Linked DNA regions of Homo sapiens: all the other regions are linked to region 1. The links are contacts of gene promoters, found by promoter capture Hi-C in blood cells and fetal thymus (Javierre and others, 2016). All regions are on one chromosome and are shown on one strand. The core of a region is centred on a gene start or on the middle of the fragment in contact, and the rest is flanking DNA. Distances in the headings are between cores, read along the strand shown.

Region 1 (2,792 bases), core at 97-2,596:
AGTTTTAATTTTCCACTGGTGCTCCCACGTGAAGGCACATTTCTTAGTAAATGAACGGCAGCTAGGACAGTGCATATGTATGCATTTTCTATCTTTATTTTTTTTTTGTAAATGGGAAAGAATAGTGCACCTTCAACATGGACAACAGAATCTTGAGAAATGTTCTAGGTGGCAAGAAAAGTGGGAAATGAAGGATGACTTTTAGTTAAGGGAAGAAGGAAATCTGCAGTGAGCCAACCCTTCCCTCCCCCCCGCCCCCCCATTTCGGAAGCCCATGCTGTCGCCCTGAGTAATCTTGTTCCTGTCTATTAATGAATTAAGTTAAAAGGCTTAGACTGTAGACTTTAGCTACTGCATGAAGCAAAATAGTAAGGAAGCTCTTCAAAAAGCCTCCATTCATAGATAACCCCCCTTAAAAATGAAATTCTAATAAACGGAAAAACTACAAGTCGACACAATCAAAAGCAAATCCCAGCAAGAGCAGAAGGTACTTGAAACTCGAATCTGCATTCCGTTCCTCCCGTACAAGGCTCGGAGGTGGGGGAGGCGGTTTGTGCTGGTGCCTGGTGTATAATCGGGTTAATCCAGTAGACAAAGAATAAACCAATAGCCCTCCCACCTCACTTCCCGCTCCCCTTCCCCTCCCCCTTCTTCTCCCCCCGCCCCAGCCCCCGTCACCCGCTCCGCAAAGGGGAACAGAAAAGGGGAGAGGTAGACTTGAAATGGATTCTGGATAAAGTCTTAAAACCTGCAACTTGTTTTTCATGCTAACACTGCGTGGCCCAGATTAGTCTTAAATGTTCATTCCCCTTTCCTGGTGGCAAGGAGAAAGTTCCCTAAGTCAGCTCGAGCCTCTGGCTCGTCCTCATTGCCTCTGGGCAAACCTTAAGGTCAGTGTTTCCTTGAAACTAGATAAACTGACCCTGCAGTGCCCAGCCCGGCCCCGCGGGCGCCCCGCGTGACGGCGCTCGGGCGGCAGGACCGGCCTGGGGACGCGCGGGGCGGCGCGGTTGCCCTTTTGAATGCCTCCTGCGGCTCGGAGCGCTGGCGGGCGCTGGAGTGTGAGTGAATGTAGCCCCGCGGAGCCAATGAGCTGGGACCGGATGCGATATATCCTCTGGGACAACAACTGCTCTGTTCCGCCTCGGATCCACATGACGCCATTTACTGCTGCCGCGGCCGCCGCAGAGCTCCCTGCCTCCTCCGGAAAGGCGAGGGCGCAGGCCAACGGCGAGCCCCCCCCGGGCGGGCCCCAGACCCTCCTCCTCCTCCTCCTCCTCCTCTTCCTCCTCCTCCGCACCCACCGCCCCCGCCTCGGCCTCGCTGCCTCGCCTCCACAACGCCCAGTCTGCACCGCCGAGAGCTGCGCGCCGCAGCGCTAGCGGAGGAGAGGGGCCGGCGGAGCGCGCAGCGCCCAGGCCCCCGCGCCCGCCCGGCCCGGCCCGGCCCGCGCCCCCGCGCCGCCTCCGCTACGACGCGGCCCCGGCCGCACCACTTGGCGATCTGGCTTTAGGTTCTCCGTAAGGCCGTTTTCTTTTCCCATTCGCTCATCTGCCAGGAAAAGGGACTTGCCGTTGGCGCTTCGGCCTCTTGTTCATTGAGAAAAAAGAGGAAATACTCCGCGTGCGCTTGTAGAAGGGGAGTCGTCTCCAGCTCCGAACCCCGGAGTGTTCATCAGCGGGGAATCTGGCTCCGAATTCTCTTTTTTTCTCCCGCCGATTGCTCGGAAGTTGGTCTAAAGCAGAGGTTGGAAAGAAAGGAAAAAAGTTTGCATCGAGACTGGATTTATTTGCACATCGCAGAAAGAAGAGAATCCAAGGGAGAGGGGTTGGTGCAAAGCCGCGATCACGGTGAGGCACGTTTGGCTCTTCCCCTCCTGGCGCCGCGGCCGGCGCGTTGTGGGCAACATGGAGTAGGTGCAGCCGGACCAGGAGTTGGGTCCGTCTCTCCCCGAGCCTCCCTTTCTCAAATCCCGCAGGGTCTTCGCGAGGATCCGGGGCGCTCCCCGCGGACCTGCCTCGCCCGGGGCTTGGGCTCGGCCTGCCTCTGCGGGGACTTCTGTATGCACCCCGTGCAGTGTCCCCGACAGGCGACCCCGCGCGCCCGCGCTCTAGGGGGTTGGGACGGAGGACAGCTAGCCTGAAGTCTGCTCCCAGCCGTGCACTGGCCGCGAATTCGGCGCTGAGAGCGGGAGAGGGAGAGAAAAACACTTTGTATTTTCCAGGTTGCCTTTGCAGGCGCCCGCATTTCTAACCTGTTCTTCCTCTTGGTGGAAGGCAAAGTCCAGGGAGAGGCTGTCCCTAGGCGGGGCGCTGGTGGGGCTGGGGGACACAGGTTGCCCGCCTCGGGGGCAGGAGACTTCCAGGGTGAGAAAAAGGCAGGGTGCCGGGTGGAGGGAGTGCCCGCCTCTGCTCCGTGTGGACAGTCTAGCCCGGAGCGGGTGGGAGCGTCGCCCTGCCTGGCGCCGGGTCTCTGCGGTTCGGAAGTGCAGCTCTCTCTCTTCCGTTCTTCGTGGTCAGCCTGGGTCACACTTATTTTATTTTTGGAAGCTCGGGCTGACCCAGCGCAGGAAGAAAGTCATCAAGCGGTCGCGATCATTTTCCATTACCTGAAAGTAGGTGGCAAAATAGGCAATTTTTTATTTCCTTTTGTTGTTGTTGTTGCTGTGTTTTAATTTGGATTCTTGTGTGTTTTTTACAAAGCAGTTTCTGTGTCCGTTTGCCCCACCCTAGAGCTGAAGTTCTTTTCCCCTAATCCTCAGTCTGATCACACACTGTTCTTAATGGGGGTTT
Region 2 (2,792 bases), core at 157-2,656, 590 kb before region 1:
AATAATACTGCCCCTGTGGAATTATTGCTTCAATAGTGTGTGGCCTTGGACAGATTACAAAACTGCTACTAACTCTATTCTTCCTCAGTAAATTAGAAGTACACACTCTAAAATATTTAAAAATTTTAAATTTAAATTTAAAAAGCTTCTAGTAAAAAATTCCATCAAAGGGTGGAAAAGTCTAGGACATAATTATATTTATTTTTATTATATCCAATTACTATCAATGGAAGAGTATGCCACTTTTTGTAGAAACCTAGTATTTTAAAGGCCTAACTTCCACAATATGAAAGCTTGCTATACGATAAAATTGTACTTATCAGGAAAATGTTATTTTCTAACTTCTCTCATTTTCTGTTAAAGACTTTTTTCCCCCATATAGGTTGAATGACTAGTGACGTTTGTGTTTTGGATCTTATTCTTGTTATTTCTCTGATGCTTCAACCAACTATTTGCTTTGTAATGCCTCTAATTTCCTGTATTACTCTAATAGGGATCTATTTCAACTTATACAAATTTTTAAATAACTTCAAATTTGGAAAGCTCTGTTATCAATCATATTGGCAATGTATAAGTTAAAATATCAACAGAAATAATGTTCAAGCACAAGTCAGTAACGAAACTTTTCTCCATATACGTACATTTTGCATTGCAAGATGCCATGGGGTTTGGAGTCAGAGCAGAATGACTCTGAAAATGGAATTGAAGTGAGTGCTTGTATACTCCTATGTATTATAAATTATTTTCCTCTTAAAATCAGACTCAATTGCAATCAAACATGATTCCAAAAATGTGATAAACTCAAGATAGTCAACAAAATCAAAGATTTTCACAGGCCAAAAGTATTTTTGTTTTGTTTTGTTATTCAATTATTATATTTTAAATTTCATTTTGGTTTTAACTTTTTATTCAACTAGTTTTAAACTTGAAACAATTTTAAATGAGGTAGAAGAATAATGCAAAGAATTCTCATATACCCTAATCAAGAGGCCTCATTAAAATTTTATCAACTGCCCAGTTCTACATTTTATAACTAAAGGATCCAATTTTCCAATTTTTATCTATTTTTAGTTTTTATTTATTTATTTATTTATTTTTGAACCCGGGCCTCGCTCTGTCACCCAGGCTGAGTGTAGTAGTGTAATCATGGTTTACTGTCACCTTGACTTCCCAGGCTCTGGTGATCCTCCTATTTCAGCCTCCTGAGTAGGTGGAACCACTGGTGCTTGATACCACGCCCTGCTAATTTTTTTATTTTTTTGTAGACACAGGGTTTTGTCATGTTGCTCAGTGCCTGGCTATTCTTTGCCTGGCTCATCCACATTTATTTATTTATTTGTCCTAGATTTGACCTGTGACAAGTTTGTGACACTCATCTCCAAGCATGGGAAGCCTAACCCCAAATACTGGCCATCTTTCCTGTATGTAGTGATGTGCTGGTCAGTGTTAATTTTAACAAAGGAAAAAATATAGTCTTGCATTAACATAATATTTAGTGGTAAAAGATTCCTAAGTCTTTATTAAAAATTTTCTGAATAAACCCATAAAAATTGAACAAGTTTGCCAGAAATTTTAATATACTTTATTGCTTTTCAGACCCAACTATTTTCAGTTATTATAGAATTTTATTTCCAATCTCTTTATGCAAAAAAAGGCTCACAACATCCCTGATTTTTAATCTTTGTCAATTTTCTGTAATATAAATATTCCCACCATAGCTGATTTCAGATTATCAACTTGAATTCATTGAAAGCACAGTTGGGAAGAGATACACACAACTGACTTCTCACAAGTCAGTGGAACCAGCTCCAGGCCACAACTAATCCATAATCAATCTCTTGACCTTTGGCTATGTACTCACCTTCTCAGGGGCTTTGACCCCATGATGTGCTGTAGTTGGCTCATTCAGGCTCACAGGAGCTGATTTTTAAGAATTTATAAATGATACAAGACAGTTATTGAATTGTCAGTAGCTTGAAATCAGCTATGATTGGTGTATTGACATTACAGAAATTGGCAAATGCTACAAATCAGTGCTTTTTTTCAGATAATCTGTTTACCAGCACAGCATCATTCTGACCTCTGCTGAATTCCCTTCCTCACTTGGAATTGCCTTCTTATTATTATTTTTCACTTAATTATTCAGGAAGGAATGAAGAGAGAGAGGGACAGAGGGAGGAAGTGAAGAAGGAAGTACAGCCATATCTATTTTTAAAAGGTTTTTATGGGAGCAGTCAAACTAAGTATGTGAAGTTTTATTTCTCATATTGTATCTAGTAGATAAATCGTCCCTCCCTTAGGCAGGTTGCTCTTAAATTACGTCATCTGAAGTATCCCAAACTTTTATACATGTCATATTTTCTTAAGTTCTTGCATAAATAGAGATTCTTTTCTATTTTAACAGTATATTTGGTCATTTCAATTTTAAGGTAAGCCAAGATTGCCATATATTTTTGTGCAAAGGATTTTGAAATTTATGTAGACGGATCTATAAATATTTTCCTTTTTTGAAAAGCTTATTGTGTATAATTCATAGCTTCACATACAAGATACAGTAACTTTTTTGGATTTTGTTTTCATAATACTTTGACCTTCTTCATGTGTGCATGTGTAGGTGTGCCTTTGTGTATGAGCTGACTTGTTTTCCAGGAACGTTAATAGAATAAAAATAACGCTAATAATAATAGCTGCTGTGTATTAAGTATGTCAAACTTGTCAATAAACAATTTTCTTAACAAGCCCTAGTACAGATACTTACAGCACGCAAATTTACTTAACTTGTACAATGTCAA
Region 3 (2,792 bases), core at 186-2,685, 580 kb after region 1:
ATACAAAATTAGCTGGGCATGATGGCACATGCCTGTAATCCCAGCTACTTGGGAGGCTGAGGCAGGAAAATCGCTTGAACCTGGGAGGCGGAAGTTGCAGTAAGCCGAAATTGTGCCATTGCACTCCAGCCTGGGCAACAAGAGTGAAACTCTATGTCAAAAAAAAACAAACAAAAGAACAAACAAACAAACAAAAACCCACTAATTTCAGCTGCAATTCAGTTGACACACTAAACAATGCATCAGAGTCTCTCAACAGCAGAACTGATCAAGCAGAAGAAAGAATTGGTGAGCTTGAAAGCAAGCTATTTGAAAATACATGGTCAGAGGAAATGAAAGAAAAAAGAATAAAAATGAATGAAGCATACCTACAAGTTCTAGAAAATAGCCTCAAAAGTGCAAATCTAAGAGTTATTAGCCTTAAAGAGGAGGAAGAGAGACAGACTGGGGTAAAAATTTTATTTGATTGAATAACAGATAACTTTCCAAAATGAGAGAAAGATATCAACACTAAAGTACAAGATGGTTGTAGAATACTAAGCAGATTTAACCCAAATAATACTATCAAGACAATGAATAATCAAACTCCCAAAGTTCAAAGATAAAGGGTCCTAAAAGCAGCAAGAGAAAAAAAACAAATAGCATACAATGGAATGCCAATGTCTGGCAGCAGGCTTCTCAGTGGAAACCTCCCAGGCCAAGAGAGAGTGGCAAGACATATTTAAAGTGCTAAAGGAAGAAAAAAAAATTTATCATAGAATAGCACATCCAGCAACAATATCCTTTAAACATGAAGAAGAAATAGACTTTCCTAGTCAAACAAAAGCTGAGGGATTTCATCAATACCAGAATTGTCTTACAAGAAATGCTAAAGGGAGTTCTTCAATCTGAAAGAAAACATTAACAAACAATAAGAGATCATGTGAAGGTACAAAACTCATTGGCAATAGTGAATACACAGACAAACATAGAATATTATAACCCTGAAATTGTGGTGTGTAAACTACTCATATCTTGAGTAGAAAGACTAAAAGATGAACCTATCAAAAATAGTAATTATGACAACTTTTCAAGACCTAGACAATATAACAAGATATAAATAGAAACAAAGTTAAAGTGAGTGTGATGAGATTAAAGTATATAGTTTTTGTTAGTTTTATCTTAGTTTTTGCAATCAGTGTTAAGTTGTCATCGGTTTGAAATAATGGGTTATAAGATGTTATTTGTAAGCCTCATGGTAACCTCAAATCCAAAAACCTACAACAAATACACGCAAAAAAAATAAAAATTAAAAAATTAAGACATACCACCTGGAAAAATTGCCTTCACTAAAAGGAAGATGGACGGTAAGAAGGAAGGAAGGAAGGAAGGACCACAAAATAAAAAAAAAACCAGTATCAAATATCAAAATGGCAGGAGTAAGTCCTTACTTATCAATAACATTGAATGTAAATGAACTAAACTCTCTAATCAAAAGAGTGGCTGAAGGGATTAAAAAAAACAAGATCCAATGATCTGTGGCCTACAAGAAACACACTTCACCTATAAAGACACACATAGACTGCAAATAAAGGCATGGGAAAAAGATATCCCACACAAATGGAAACAAAAAAGAGCAGGAGTAGCTATACTTATATAGGATAAAATAGATTTCAAGACATAAACTATAAAAAGACACAAAGATGGTCATTATATAATAACAAAGGGGTCAATTTAGCAATAGGATACAATTATAAATACATCTACATAAATATTAAAGAAAATAAATAATAAAGGTCAGAGCAGAAATGTATGAAATTGAAATGAAATAAACAAAAATATTTATAATTGTTACATATATATACACACATACATATATATATGCACACAAACACACACACACACACACGTACATCCAACACTGCAGCACCTAAATATATAAAGCAATATTATTGGAGCTATAAGGAGAGATAGGCCCCCAGTAAAATAGCTGGAGATTTCAACACCCCACTTTCAGCATTGGACAGAATTTCCAGACATAAAATCAACAAAGAAACATTGGACTTAATCTATACAATAGACCAAATGGATCTAATACATATTTACAAAACACTTCATCCAATGGCTGCAGAATACACATTTTTCTCCTTAGCACATGAATCATTCTTGAGGACGGACCACATGTTAGGCCACAAAACTCAACTTAAAACATTTTAAAAAATTAAAATCATATCACATATCTTCTCTGACTACAACAGAACAAGAAATCAATAGCAAGAACAAGTATACAAACACGTGAAAATTGAATAAGATGCTCCTGAACAACCAGTGAGTCAATAAAAAAATTAAAATTTAAAATTTAAAATTTCTTGGAAAAGAATGAAAATGGAAAATGGAAACACAACATACCAAAACCTATAGGATACAGTGAAAGCAATACTAGAGGAAAGCAATAAGAGCCTACATCAAAAAAGAAGAAAAACATCAAATAACTAATCTAAAAATGTGTCTTAAAGAACTAGAAAAGAGAATGAAACCCAAAATTAGTAGAAATAAATAATAAAGATCAAAGCAGAAATACATGAAATTGAAATGAAATAAATATAAAAGATCAACAAAAATGAAAAGTTGATTTTTTGAAAAGATAAACAAAATTGACAACCCTTTAGACAGAAAGAGAGAGCCAACCCAAATACGTAAAATCAGAGATGAAAAAGGAGACATTACAACTGATACTGCAGAAATTCAAAGGATCATTAGGGACTACTATGAGCAACTATATACCAATAGCTTAAAAAACCTAGAAGAAATTG
Region 4 (2,792 bases), core at 163-2,662, 560 kb after region 1:
GCAGAGACATGTACCTTGGACCAACTGAGATCTAGAGATATGCTTGCGTCTCACTGTCTCCAAGTATTCAACAATCTTATGAGTTAGCTAATGATTCACCAGTCCTATCTAATCACTACAAATCAAAGGCAGAATCTACATAGTATACTGATGACATTTTTAAGTGCAAAGAAGACTAGTGATCTAAGGAAATTTAGAGTGGGAGACACGCATTCTTTAAAGCACTTCAGTTTTTAAAATATTCATACACTGATTTCTTTTAGGCACCAATTCTTGTAAGAAGGCCTTTAACTTATATGGAAAGAAAAATGGAGATGTCATTTATTGGATACTTATAGTGTGTCAGGCACTGAGCATGACACTTCAATTTAAAAGGAATGTATATAAAAACATGTATATATAAACAGCAATGTAATGTACAATAAGTCTATGAAGCCTTTTTTACCAACTAGGACCCTCAGTTGTGGAGAGTTTATATCAACTACCCAAGGCCATAAATGATGGCTACATTTTAAAAGGAAGAGCATTTCTTTTTTTTACTCTGCCTGCACTTTATATTTTGCCATATTGCCTCTCAGGCTGGGCCATATCACCCTGACCTGTTAGTAAAGTCTGATAAAAAATGAACAAATTATTACTAATTCAGAATGTTCAGTGCTGTATATAAGTCTGTGTATGTGTATGTATATATATATACACACAGTAATAATGCATCCTGGAGAGTGTGTGTGTATATATATACATGCACAGTAATAATGCATCCATATATACATTACATATAATATATATTATATATAATATATGTATATATGTATATATATAATGTGTGTATATATGTATATCTATATAATATGTATATATATATAATATAATATATATATATGGGGCTGGGGTTAAGAAAGATATATATTATTACTAAATAATCCAGAAATACTCAAGAAAAGTGCCATAGTTGATTTCCATGAAGTCTGAATTTCCATTAGATTTAATGGAGGTGACTCTGGGGTATGTTATATTTATATCCCATAATTTAAGTAGCACCCCAGGGATATGTATCTTTATAGCACCCCAGGATGAGATTACAATGGATGAGAAATAAAAAAGGGAGAGTAAGGTCTGGAAAAGGTCCTTGGTTGGAATCTATAGACAGTGTCTTCTCTCCCCTTGCTCTGTACCTAGCCACTTCACTTCTCTATGCAAGTTTGGGAAGAGCCTGTCACATCACAGTAGAGATCTAAAGGGGTTCTGTCCAGAAAAACTATGCTAAAATATGACAACTCATATCTACTTAAAGGGCATTGGCAAATGGTTGGTCTTTGAAAACTTCATCTCTTTACGCCTTCACCCCAAGTTCTGAACATCTCCAAGTCGCTTCTGAGTCTTGTTTTTCCAGCAGGGAGGAGGTGACAGCAGCAGTCTGACTCATCTGGAACCACTGTCTCTTCCCTGGCACCCAGAAATGTGCCTGTCTTCTTAATAGTATCCAATAGCATAATATGGTAAAAAAATGGGCATCCACCAGGAGCCTATAGCACTTCCTCCCACTGAGGGTCAAACACAGACACACATCTCTGAGCCTTCTAAGCAGCTCAGACCTGCACTCTTGCCTGTGTTCCTCTGCCTTTGAATTCACTGGATCTTAGTAGTGACTTAGTAGTTACTCAGTAGTTACCAAAACAGTGCAAAACCATCGCAGTTTCTATGTAAAACAAAACAGAAACCTCATTCTCCGGAGCACACGTGCACTTAACCTAAGTTTGGCATTTGATAGACTTTTCTGCATTTTGTTCTTTTCTGCCTCTCCTACATGGGCTCTCATATCTTTTGTCTTTTTTTTCTTTTTTTTTCTGAAAAGGTTTTGACTTAAAACTGAAAATATTCTAAGTGACAAGTAAGTAGCCCCTTCTCAAATAGAACCTGCAATAACATGCCTGGATTACATTAAGGAATGCTGGAGGGGATCCCAAAAACCAGTGTTTGAACAGTCAACCTGACAAAATCCTAGGACACCATTGAAAGAGCTCCTGTTACCTAACTGACTTAGAGCTGATCAGTGTAATCCTCATGATAATGCATTGTCTGACTCCAGGAACCTGTTGCAATAGCCAGCGGGAGGAGGAGGAACAGAGAGCCCTCTGGGAGTGTCCAAACCTCTGCCACAGTAATGAGACATGAACTGCCTTTTCCTCTGGCTCTGCTTTTGAGCAATGTGGACCAAGAAGTTTCAAAGAGTGAGATAACTTAGATTTATTAAGGAAAGTAAGCTGAACATGGAGACAAAAACAGAGAAAACCACAGAAAGAGACCAATAGCTAATGCCCAAATCCCAGGAAGCAGAGCAGTGAGAGTGAATTTCTTGGCAGGAAAACCAGATTGGTCTAGAAAGAAGTTTTGGGAAAATGTTTGAATCAGTCTCAACAGAATGAAAATGTTTCTAAATGAGCCCTTTGACTGGTTTTCTCTTGGACAAGGTGAAGACCAAATGAAGGAAGGATGAAGGTGGGATGTTTAAGTCTTTTAAAGATAACAAACTTTCCTGTGGCTAGTTAGCCCATTTCTGAGAGTTTATCTCAAGATTCTTCAAAGCATAAGAATGCAAGAGTAGACTTGCACTGGGTCTGTCACCTCCCAAATCTAGGTTGAATGAGGAGGTAGCACAATTCCTGTCTCAGCACCAAAAACTTAGTACCAACAACTGTGACTTTTGTCAAATCTCCTTCCAACTCAGTAAAAAATTCCCCACTATTTGTGATCAACAGTTTTTAAAAATAACACTTCTGTTGTGGCTTCTT
Region 5 (2,792 bases), core at 114-2,613, 570 kb before region 1:
CATGGATGAAGCTGGAAACCATTATTCTCAGCAAACTAACACAGAAACAGAAAACCAAACACTATGTTTTCACTCATAAGTGGGAGATGAACAATGAGAACACATGGATACGGGGAGCAGAACATCACACACCAGGGCCTGTCAGGGGTTGGAGGCTAGGGGGAGGGATAGCATTAGGAGAAATACCTAATGTAGATGACGGGTTGATGGGTGCAGCAAACCACCACAGCACATGTATACCTATGTAACAAACCTGCACATTCTGTACATGTATCCCAGAAGTTAAAGCATAATAATAAAAAAAAAATGAAACGAAATGGCTTTGCATATTTGACAGATATGTGCCAGGCACTGGAAATATACAGTCTGACTACAGTTTTGAAAGAATACAATTTCTAATCTCATACTTTTTGAAATGAAAAGTGTTTACGCTGGATGAAATTTCTTCCTGATACAAAATAATCTATATTACTTTTAACACACTTAATTGTTGTGAGAAAATCCTTCCTTGTTTTTCTGTATTCTAATGACATTTATAGGAGAAGTTATGGTTAATAAAAATGGTAAACATTTTTGAGCACTTAGTCTTGTATTACATATACATAGGTTATACATGAGCATGTATTATTTCATTTCAACTTCTAAAATCCCCTATGAGATAGACATTGTTGTTGTCTCCGTTTTACAAATTTGGAAACTAAGGCTGAAAATCATGAAGATACTGATTCTTGATGACACAGTAATAGGTTCATCTTATATAAGAAACACTCCTCCTCATCAGAACCCTAGCTTTTAACCACTTCACTTCTGTTTTCACATCTATTTTTTGATGTATTTATTGTTATTGTTATATTGTGTTTCTTTGCAAACAAGCTTAATTTCTGCCACCACAGACCATTAGTTCATTGTGTCAGCCTACTACATGGCAAAAATGGAGCTAAGTGCAATGCCCAACAATGCTTAAGATAAAACCTGCCTGTGCACCTTCTGAGTGGGGGAAAAGGCAAGCATAAAGACAATCGTGACTGATACAAGTTCTTATGGGCTACATTTGTCCCGGTCTATCAGAGGGCACAAAATCCAGACTTAGATAGGTTCAGAATGGCTTAATGGAGGAATGATGTCTAAAGTAACACATGAGAAAAGAGTTGGCATTTTCCAGAACTCCTACTTATGCAGCATGCAGAGAGTTTCCCTCCACACATATAACCTGTCTTATAAATTATTTCATTTATTATTTCTTCATTTGTACCTCTTTGGTACATTTGTGACCTAATATAAGGCTTGATTTCCAGAAGTCAACATTAATTTCAACTCTCTCTCTTCCAAAATGTAATCTCAGTCTGCAAGAGTCCCTGTTATAAGGGAGTAATACAATGTTGTGAATACATACCCCTCTTGCCTGCGTCCCCTTTCCCTAGAATCTCTCCCTAACTTGTTTCTTCTTCTCTCTTAAACCTCTTAAACAGACTCAACATTCCATTTCCTATGTCCATGCAGACATGTTCAAAATGAAGTTCAAAATGATTTACCAAACCTATTTTTGAATGTCATGTGATTCAAGCCCCATATTGTGCAATATTACCAGAATAATAGATTAAAATATAAATATCTTAGTGCCGTGTCAATTCTCTGCACATATGTTAAAAGCTACTTTCGAAGATATATTCTATCACTTTATTTTTTTTCCTATAACCTTGGATGGAGCCATTGTTGTCTCCCATGGAAAATCCATTCAACATTTCTTTATGTTCCTGATGCACTAATAACGAATTTTATTTTCCTCATTCTAACACATTTAGTGAAATTATCCCATTATCCCTTAATGCATGTCAAAATCCCTCTGAAGCTTTCTACAAAAGTAAAGTTAAAGCTAAAAAGGATCTTAAAGTGCATTTAGACTAGATTATTTTTATTTTAGGCTAGTATATTTTATTTTGCAGATGAGGACAGTGTGATTTAAAAATTAAATAATTTATTCATAGTCCCAAAGCTTTTACATGGCAGACCTAGAGCTGAAAGTAACTTCTGGATTTTCTTATATAGTAAAATATTCATTACACCACCTGCCTACTTACTACTGGAACTTGTTCCCAACTTGTGAAATAAAGAGAAGGATTAAGGTTTCTCACATACAGTTCCTGGATTTCTATCTCACTGACAATATTTTTAATGCAATACTTTTGGCTCTATATTTAATTCTTATGGGAAGTTATCTGTGGATAACATCTGGTCAACTAAACACGAAATAAAAAACAAAAAAAGGAATAAATAATCTTGCAATTTACAATGACATTTTAAGACAACACTGGACATAAATAATTGTTTTCTTGCAGTTTTTTTCAGAATCTTGATTCCATTTAATAGGTTTAGAGAAAGTGAATGTGTGGTACACATTTTAGACTATGTTAATATTCATAAACTATTGCAATTACCTTTTGAGTACTTTTTCTTATTATAATAATGTGCCTAAATTTACTATAATTTACTTTACTTTCAAACTCACATGTGTTTAAAACATTTCCTCAGAATAATAAGAAAACTGAATTGAGAGGTATTATATATTGTTAGATAAGTCACTAACTTTTCTCAGTCTGAGTGTATTAGTTCTCACATTGCTATAAAGACATACCTGAGACTGGGTAATTTATAAAGAAAAATGGTTTAATCTGCTCACAGTTCTGCAGACTTTCCAGATTTCTGCTTCTGGAGAGGCCTCAGGAAACTTACAATCAGGGCAGAAGATGAAGCAGAAGCAGGTACATCTTCGCATGGCTAGCAGGAGAGAGTAA
Region 6 (2,792 bases), core at 111-2,610, 540 kb after region 1:
AGCTACTAGCTATTGAACTTTTGCCAAGTCCAGGCACTAATGTAAATGTGCTTTGTTTTGTTTTTGAGACAGGGTCTCATTCTGTCACCCAGATTGTAGTGCAGTGGTGCAATGTCAGCTCACTGCAAACTTTGCCTCCTGGGCTCAAACTATCCTCCCATCTCAGCCTCCTGAGTAGTTAGGACTACAGGTGTGCATCACCACATCCAGTGAATTTTTTAAATTTTCTTTTTGTAGAGACAAGATCTCACTATATTGTCCTGTCTGGTCTCAAACTCCTGGACTCAAGCAATCTGCCTGTCTTGGCCTCCCAAAGTGTTGAGATTACAGGTGTAAGCCTGTAAATGTGCTTTGAACTAGGTACTTTGTCTCATTTGATCCTGATAATAGTCCTGTGAGAGAGACCTTGTTATTTCCCAGATTATAGATCAGGGAACTGAGGTGTAAGGTGATTGAACAATGGGCTAAGGACAAATAGGTAATAATACAGAATCCAAATAATCTGCTTATAACCACTAAACTATTTTAACTGAGTTCAGGGAGCACATTGTCATTTCAATGGAATTTTATTGGAAAGCTCAACACTATTTTTGTTTGAGCAGCATGATTTCTTTTACAGATTCCCTCCTCTTCTTACCTCCCTTCTCTTCTAGGAGTTAATTCTATTATATTAAATTGCTCTGGGAAATTGTTAATGATCCTGTATTCAAGGACTCTAAAATAGAAGGAATGGGGATGGAAGACTTTGATTCTGGGAATGCACTGCAGTCAAAAACAGAGATAGGAGCCAGAAAGTATTCCTGAAGTGCCCTTGTTCATTTCCATGTGCCTGAGCAATCCCCAGAAAAATTATTGCTGCTCCTAATTCCCAACCTTTGGGTCATCCTCAAATCCCTTGCAATAGAGTGGAGTATCATTCCTTCAGTTCCACAAAATATTTAGGAATTTTCCATAAGAAATTCATCCTTACAGAAGCAGCCTTTATGATCTGCTCTGTAGATTTCATCCCAGAAAACCCTACTGTATTTTGATGTCTTGCGGAGGGTGCCACAAAAACAGCACTCCAGCTAGCGCTCAGGAATCAAAACTTCCCTTCCTGAAGTTCATATGGCCATAGCGCCAAGAAAAAAAGGAGATATTTGTATATATGTCTTTCTTCTATATCATGACAGTATATTTTATTCTACCCAGTGGGAACCAAAGAGGCAAAACCAATCCAAATATTATTTTAGAGCTAAATATGTGCTTATGTATCTATTTTATACAAAGGGGTTATGAACGCTTCTAATGTCATTTCTTAATCAACTGGAACTTGAGCCTTTAGTACTTACAATCAAATTGCATAATTTTAAACAAACTGTACACTTAAAATTTTTGCAATTTCATGGTTAAAATGACTCTTTAATAGGAGGACTGTGGACTCATAGCAGAGGTATCTTCTGGATACCTATATGGGTGTCATTTTTGAGAATTAGAGGCAGAATTGGAGTGCATCATTTTTTTTAAAGTCTTTTCACAAAATTCTTTCTAAAGCCATCCCCGTTTTCTTCCATGAACATCTCTTTAGCTGCATAGTCAAGGTAATCATTCACTGCAGAATTCTATGAACAGCATAGTTTCAAATATTCTTTTTCATAGGCACACTGAGCACAGTCAGGCTACTCAAACTGTGTCTTGATTTGAGGTTTGGAAACATGGCCACAAGACACCTATGTAACAATTGAGCAGCACTCGTTGAACATGTTGCCATCTCAATCATGGTATCACACAGTATTCTGAAGGAAGCAGGACAAGACTGATCAGTCTATAAGGGAGTTCACACCACAGAAGCAAGTGATCCTGCTTAAAATACTTCCTTCACTAAGGGAAGACAATTCAGGTAAATATTTGCATGGCGAACAATTTACATTCTTCCTTTCCTATAAATGTCTCTACCTTTCATCAAAGATCCACTTGTCACCTACACAAATTGCAGGTGTTGAAGCCAGATCTGTGACCCTGAAGAGCATCTTTGCCATTTCCGAATGACCTATGCATCCAAAAATGTGCCCTATGTCTATAAACAGTTGAGCTTCTGAAATTTTCTCTAAGGAACACAAAGCATATGCCATGCAGCTGGCTCACATATCACCCGTAGTGTCAGACAACTGCTCTCTGAAGTGCTCTGGTTTTCTGATCAGGAGACATCTGTCATGCTGGTCACACAGTGGGGAAAGCATGGAGCTGGGATGCCAGTGATTGGGGTCTGGGCCTCACTTGGCCACCAGGATGTGTGGGTGTGGGTGTAGGCTAGTTCCATTGTTTCTCAGCCTCTACTTCCTCACTTGAAAGGTGAGAGTTTGATTACATGAGCTTTAAAGTCCTTATCCAATTCAAAACACTTGGGATTATTTAATTTTACAACCAAACAGGATAATGGTAACTTACTTCACTCTACTCTGAGAGCATTTTTGTGGAATTCTATTAGTTAGTAGATACCTTAAAGAATATATCTTTTAAGAAAATTTTTTGTAACTTTTTACTTGGAAAATTGAGCATACATCCACCCTCCAACAAATGAATGATACATTATGAACATCTTAAACTACTGTGTACTTTTTAAAATACACAAGCCATTGGCCAGTGCCAAGGGCTTAACATTCAATTTTGCAAATTTGGTTGAGCAGATCAATAATAGATATAAGTGAACAGAAAAAGTTCAGTGGAACTTATTTTATGGTGAGAAAAAAACTGGGGAAAGGTAGAAAATGACGATTTTGCCTACTCGGAACTTTTCATCTGAATAAGTGGGA
Region 7 (2,792 bases), core at 158-2,657, 540 kb before region 1:
GTTCGTTTTTTAAAATCTTTTTTCTTTCTGTATTTCCTTTTGAATAGTTTCTATTGTTATGTCTTGAAATTTACTGTGCTTTTCTTCTGCAAAATGCTGTTAACTCTACTCACTGTATTTTTCTGTTAGGCATTGCAGATTGTTATCTGTTTTAGACTTGAGATGTTTTAGTTTTACCTCTTTCATGTCTGCACTTTACATGTCCAATCTGGCCTTTAGCTTCTCGAACATATTGAATACAATTGTAAAAACTATTCTTTCACTCTTTATTGACTCCATCCCCTTTTTTCCGAATCATTTTTAATTGATTTTTTTTCTCATTATGGCTTACATTTCCTTGCTTCTTTATATTAAGCTTCATAATTTCTATTAATAATTCATATTAAGCTTCATAATTTCTATTCTTTATATTAAGCTTCATAATTTCTATTACATGCATCATGAATTTTATCTTATTTGGGCCAGGATATTTTTTGATTCCTTTGTTCTACAAGGCATTTAAGTTAATTGGAAAGCGTTCACTCTTTGAGATCTCTTGTCTTAATGCTTTCCTAAGAAGAATGAGCATAGCCTTTTGTCAGGGTTAATGTTTTCCACTACTGAAGCATATTCTTCTGAGTATACTATCTGATATTCTGTGAATTATGAGGTTTTCTTCTCTAGATATTGGAAACTGGCACTACTGCTGGTCCTTTATAAGTCCGGGACACTGTCGCCTTTAATGATTTAAGGTGGTTGGTTTCCTTACACACATGTACTGATCAGCCTTCAATTGAACACTTGTGAGATAAATTCTCTGCAGTTCTCTCTCTTTGCTTTTCTTTCCTCTCCCATGCTTTTCTTTTCAAACTCTAGGTGTTTTGACTTCCCTGAGTTTTCGGATTCATTTTCTAAACTCAGGGAGACTGCCAGGTTCTCCCTGGGTCCTTGCTCTGCCCTAAGTTCCAGAAACGTGTAGGCTAGAGCAATCACAGAACTCACCTCATTTGTTTTCTGTCTCACTCACATAACTGCCATTGTTGCTTGAGGGGTAATGTCGAGATCCATTGCTTTATATTTTTTGTTTCTTATTTTCTTGTTTTAGTCATGAGGGTAAATCTTGTTTCTTCTACTCCATCTTGGCCCAAAGCAGAAATCTCATTATAATTTATTTGTATATGTATGTTTCTCCCAGTACACTGTAATCTCATTTTATTCGTCTTTGCCTAATACAGAATCTCACCTAATATTGAACTTGATAAGCATTTGTGAAACCGGACCTCTTTTGTTCATCAAAAAGGAATAGTAAATACATTTCAAGTTATATGGCAACTTGAAAGGTAGTAGAGACTTCTGTTGGAAAGGAAGCTCAAGTTGTTTTGAATCTAATGGGAAAAGATCTATATTAGAATAGTAATGTCTAAAAGATATGGCTTATAAACCATTGCTTTAGAGACTAGCACTTATATTTGAAAATTTGTCAAAATAATAAATACTATAATGCCTTAGAATAGGTGATAAATACTACACAATAACAAAGAGTTGACCATTCTGGGTGAGTTGCTAGCAAAAGTTATGAACATTACATTAATAATTCAAAGATTAGTCACATTGGGTAACACAGTATTAACCTAAACCAAACACATAAACAGGAACACCTCTAACAATTGGCATTTTACTATTGTCAGAATTTTAAAAATTCTAAAATTTCAACCAAATTTAAAAAGCATTTTGAAGAATTTAGATAATTTATCACTCTTTTTTTTTAGGAAAAGTGTTAATCTGCTCATTCCCAAGAGTTCGTTTGTGGCCCCATTGACCATCTCCATTCTGCTGTGCTCAGGAAGAAGGGAGGAATCTCCTCATTATACAAAGTCTATGTGAATAACTTCTCTATATCTTTCTTTAAGTTTGATATAGAGAAATACATAAATAAGGAACAGCAAGTGGTTATATGTCAGACATTTTCCTGAAGAATGTGCCCTTTAGTTCTAATCTAATCTTTCCCCAAATATAGAACTACATTTAGGTATATGCAGGATAATAAAGACATAATTTTACTTTTAAAGAAGAGTTCAAATGTATTACTGTTTAAATAACTTGATGGAGACTTGCATAATATCTGCCCTCTTTTCATCTCTTCCCATAAATTTGCAACAGTCTACTCCTTACTATATGTATATCTAAGAAATATCCAGTCTTAGAAAAGATACTTAACATTTTTTTCTAAGATAACAGAGTAAGCTGTAGGGAAACCCCACAATCATAAGTAGGCAAAAGCCTGCAAATGTCTATTGACTTATGAAAGACAACGCCTTGGCAAGAAATGCCTTGTAATCATAGACCTTTAGCTGTTAGAGAAGATAGAGGAAACGAAGACATAATCAGTTTTAGGGTAGCCCCCTGAGCACACAAGCTTAATAAATATGAACCTTAGAAACAATGATCATTGCACAATTTGCCTGTGATCAGACTTGGGGGTGTATATGAATCCTAAACACTTGGTTTCTATGTGACAATAAAAACACAGAACTGCTCTGGAATCAATTAAACTAGAATTCACACTCTTTTGTGACAGGTAGTGTACTATTCAGTGCCAGTGGAGGCAGATGGAGCATAGTTTCTGCTCAAAAATATGCAATCTGTTAAAATCTTTTTATAGTATGAGAAAAAAAGCCTTTGCCTTGCTCTTAAAACTAATTTAAACCTTTTTAAAATGCATAAGGAAGGAAAAACAAAATAAGGGATATTTATTAATAAAGAAATTGGTGCAAATTGAATATAAGGAGAAGAAAGAAAAGGCAGCTAAAAGT

The links. The method cuts DNA at HindIII sites, captures the fragments that hold promoters and counts their contacts. A CHiCAGO score of 5 or more calls a contact.
Region 2: a contact is called between a fragment that was not itself captured here and the fragment with the promoter of SPRY2 in region 1, in 3 of 17 cell types (endothelial precursors, erythroblasts and naive B cells). The highest score is 8.5, in endothelial precursors.
Region 3: a contact is called between a fragment that was not itself captured here and the fragment with the promoter of SPRY2 in region 1, in 5 of 17 cell types (M0 macrophages, M2 macrophages, M1 macrophages and 2 more). The highest score is 10.4, in M0 macrophages.
Region 4: a fragment that was not itself captured here is called in contact with the fragment with the promoter of SPRY2 in region 1 in 10 of 17 cell types (M2 macrophages, M0 macrophages, M1 macrophages and 7 more); the score reaches 26.7 in M2 macrophages.
Region 5: a fragment that was not itself captured here is called in contact with the fragment with the promoter of SPRY2 in region 1 in 2 of 17 cell types (naive B cells and megakaryocytes); the score reaches 7.1 in naive B cells.
Region 6: a contact is called between a fragment that was not itself captured here and the fragment with the promoter of SPRY2 in region 1, in 7 of 17 cell types (monocytes, M2 macrophages, M0 macrophages and 4 more). The highest score is 8.9, in monocytes.
Region 7: a contact is called between a fragment that was not itself captured here and the fragment with the promoter of SPRY2 in region 1, in 1 of 17 cell types (naive B cells). The highest score is 8.2, in naive B cells.

What each region holds. Positions count from the first base shown.
Region 1 is chr13:80,339,680-80,342,471 of GRCh38, reverse strand. It overlaps SPRY2 (sprouty RTK signaling antagonist 2), which reads left to right and starts at 1,346. Exons shown (of 2, transcript NM_005842.4): 1 at 1,346-1,850. RefSeq lists silencers at 929-978, 1,209-1,398. The HindIII fragment of the contact is 9,098 bases long and covers 1-2,792 here.
Region 2 is chr13:80,927,980-80,930,771 of GRCh38, reverse strand. No RefSeq gene overlaps it. Among named protein-coding and RNA genes, the nearest start is that of LINC00377, 89 kb to the left of the region's middle. The HindIII fragment of the contact is 2,222 bases long and covers 296-2,517 here.
Region 3 is chr13:79,761,712-79,764,503 of GRCh38, reverse strand. No RefSeq gene overlaps it. Among named protein-coding and RNA genes, the nearest start is that of LINC01038, 41 kb to the left of the region's middle. The HindIII fragment of the contact is 6,861 bases long and covers 1-2,792 here.
Region 4 is chr13:79,779,298-79,782,089 of GRCh38, reverse strand. No RefSeq gene overlaps it. Among named protein-coding and RNA genes, the nearest start is that of LINC01038, 24 kb to the left of the region's middle. The HindIII fragment of the contact is 4,415 bases long and covers 1-2,792 here.
Region 5 is chr13:80,909,186-80,911,977 of GRCh38, reverse strand. It overlaps LOC124903241 (a long non-coding RNA gene), which reads right to left. Exons shown (of 4, transcript XR_007063927.1): 4 at 251-2,775. Among named protein-coding and RNA genes, the nearest start is that of LINC00377, 110 kb to the left of the region's middle. The HindIII fragment of the contact is 976 bases long and covers 876-1,851 here.
Region 6 is chr13:79,795,710-79,798,501 of GRCh38, reverse strand. No RefSeq gene overlaps it. Among named protein-coding and RNA genes, the nearest start is that of LINC01038, 7.3 kb to the left of the region's middle. The HindIII fragment of the contact is 3,823 bases long and covers 1-2,792 here.
Region 7 is chr13:80,884,395-80,887,186 of GRCh38, reverse strand. No RefSeq gene overlaps it. Among named protein-coding and RNA genes, the nearest start is that of LINC00377, 130 kb to the left of the region's middle. The HindIII fragment of the contact is 1,980 bases long and covers 418-2,397 here.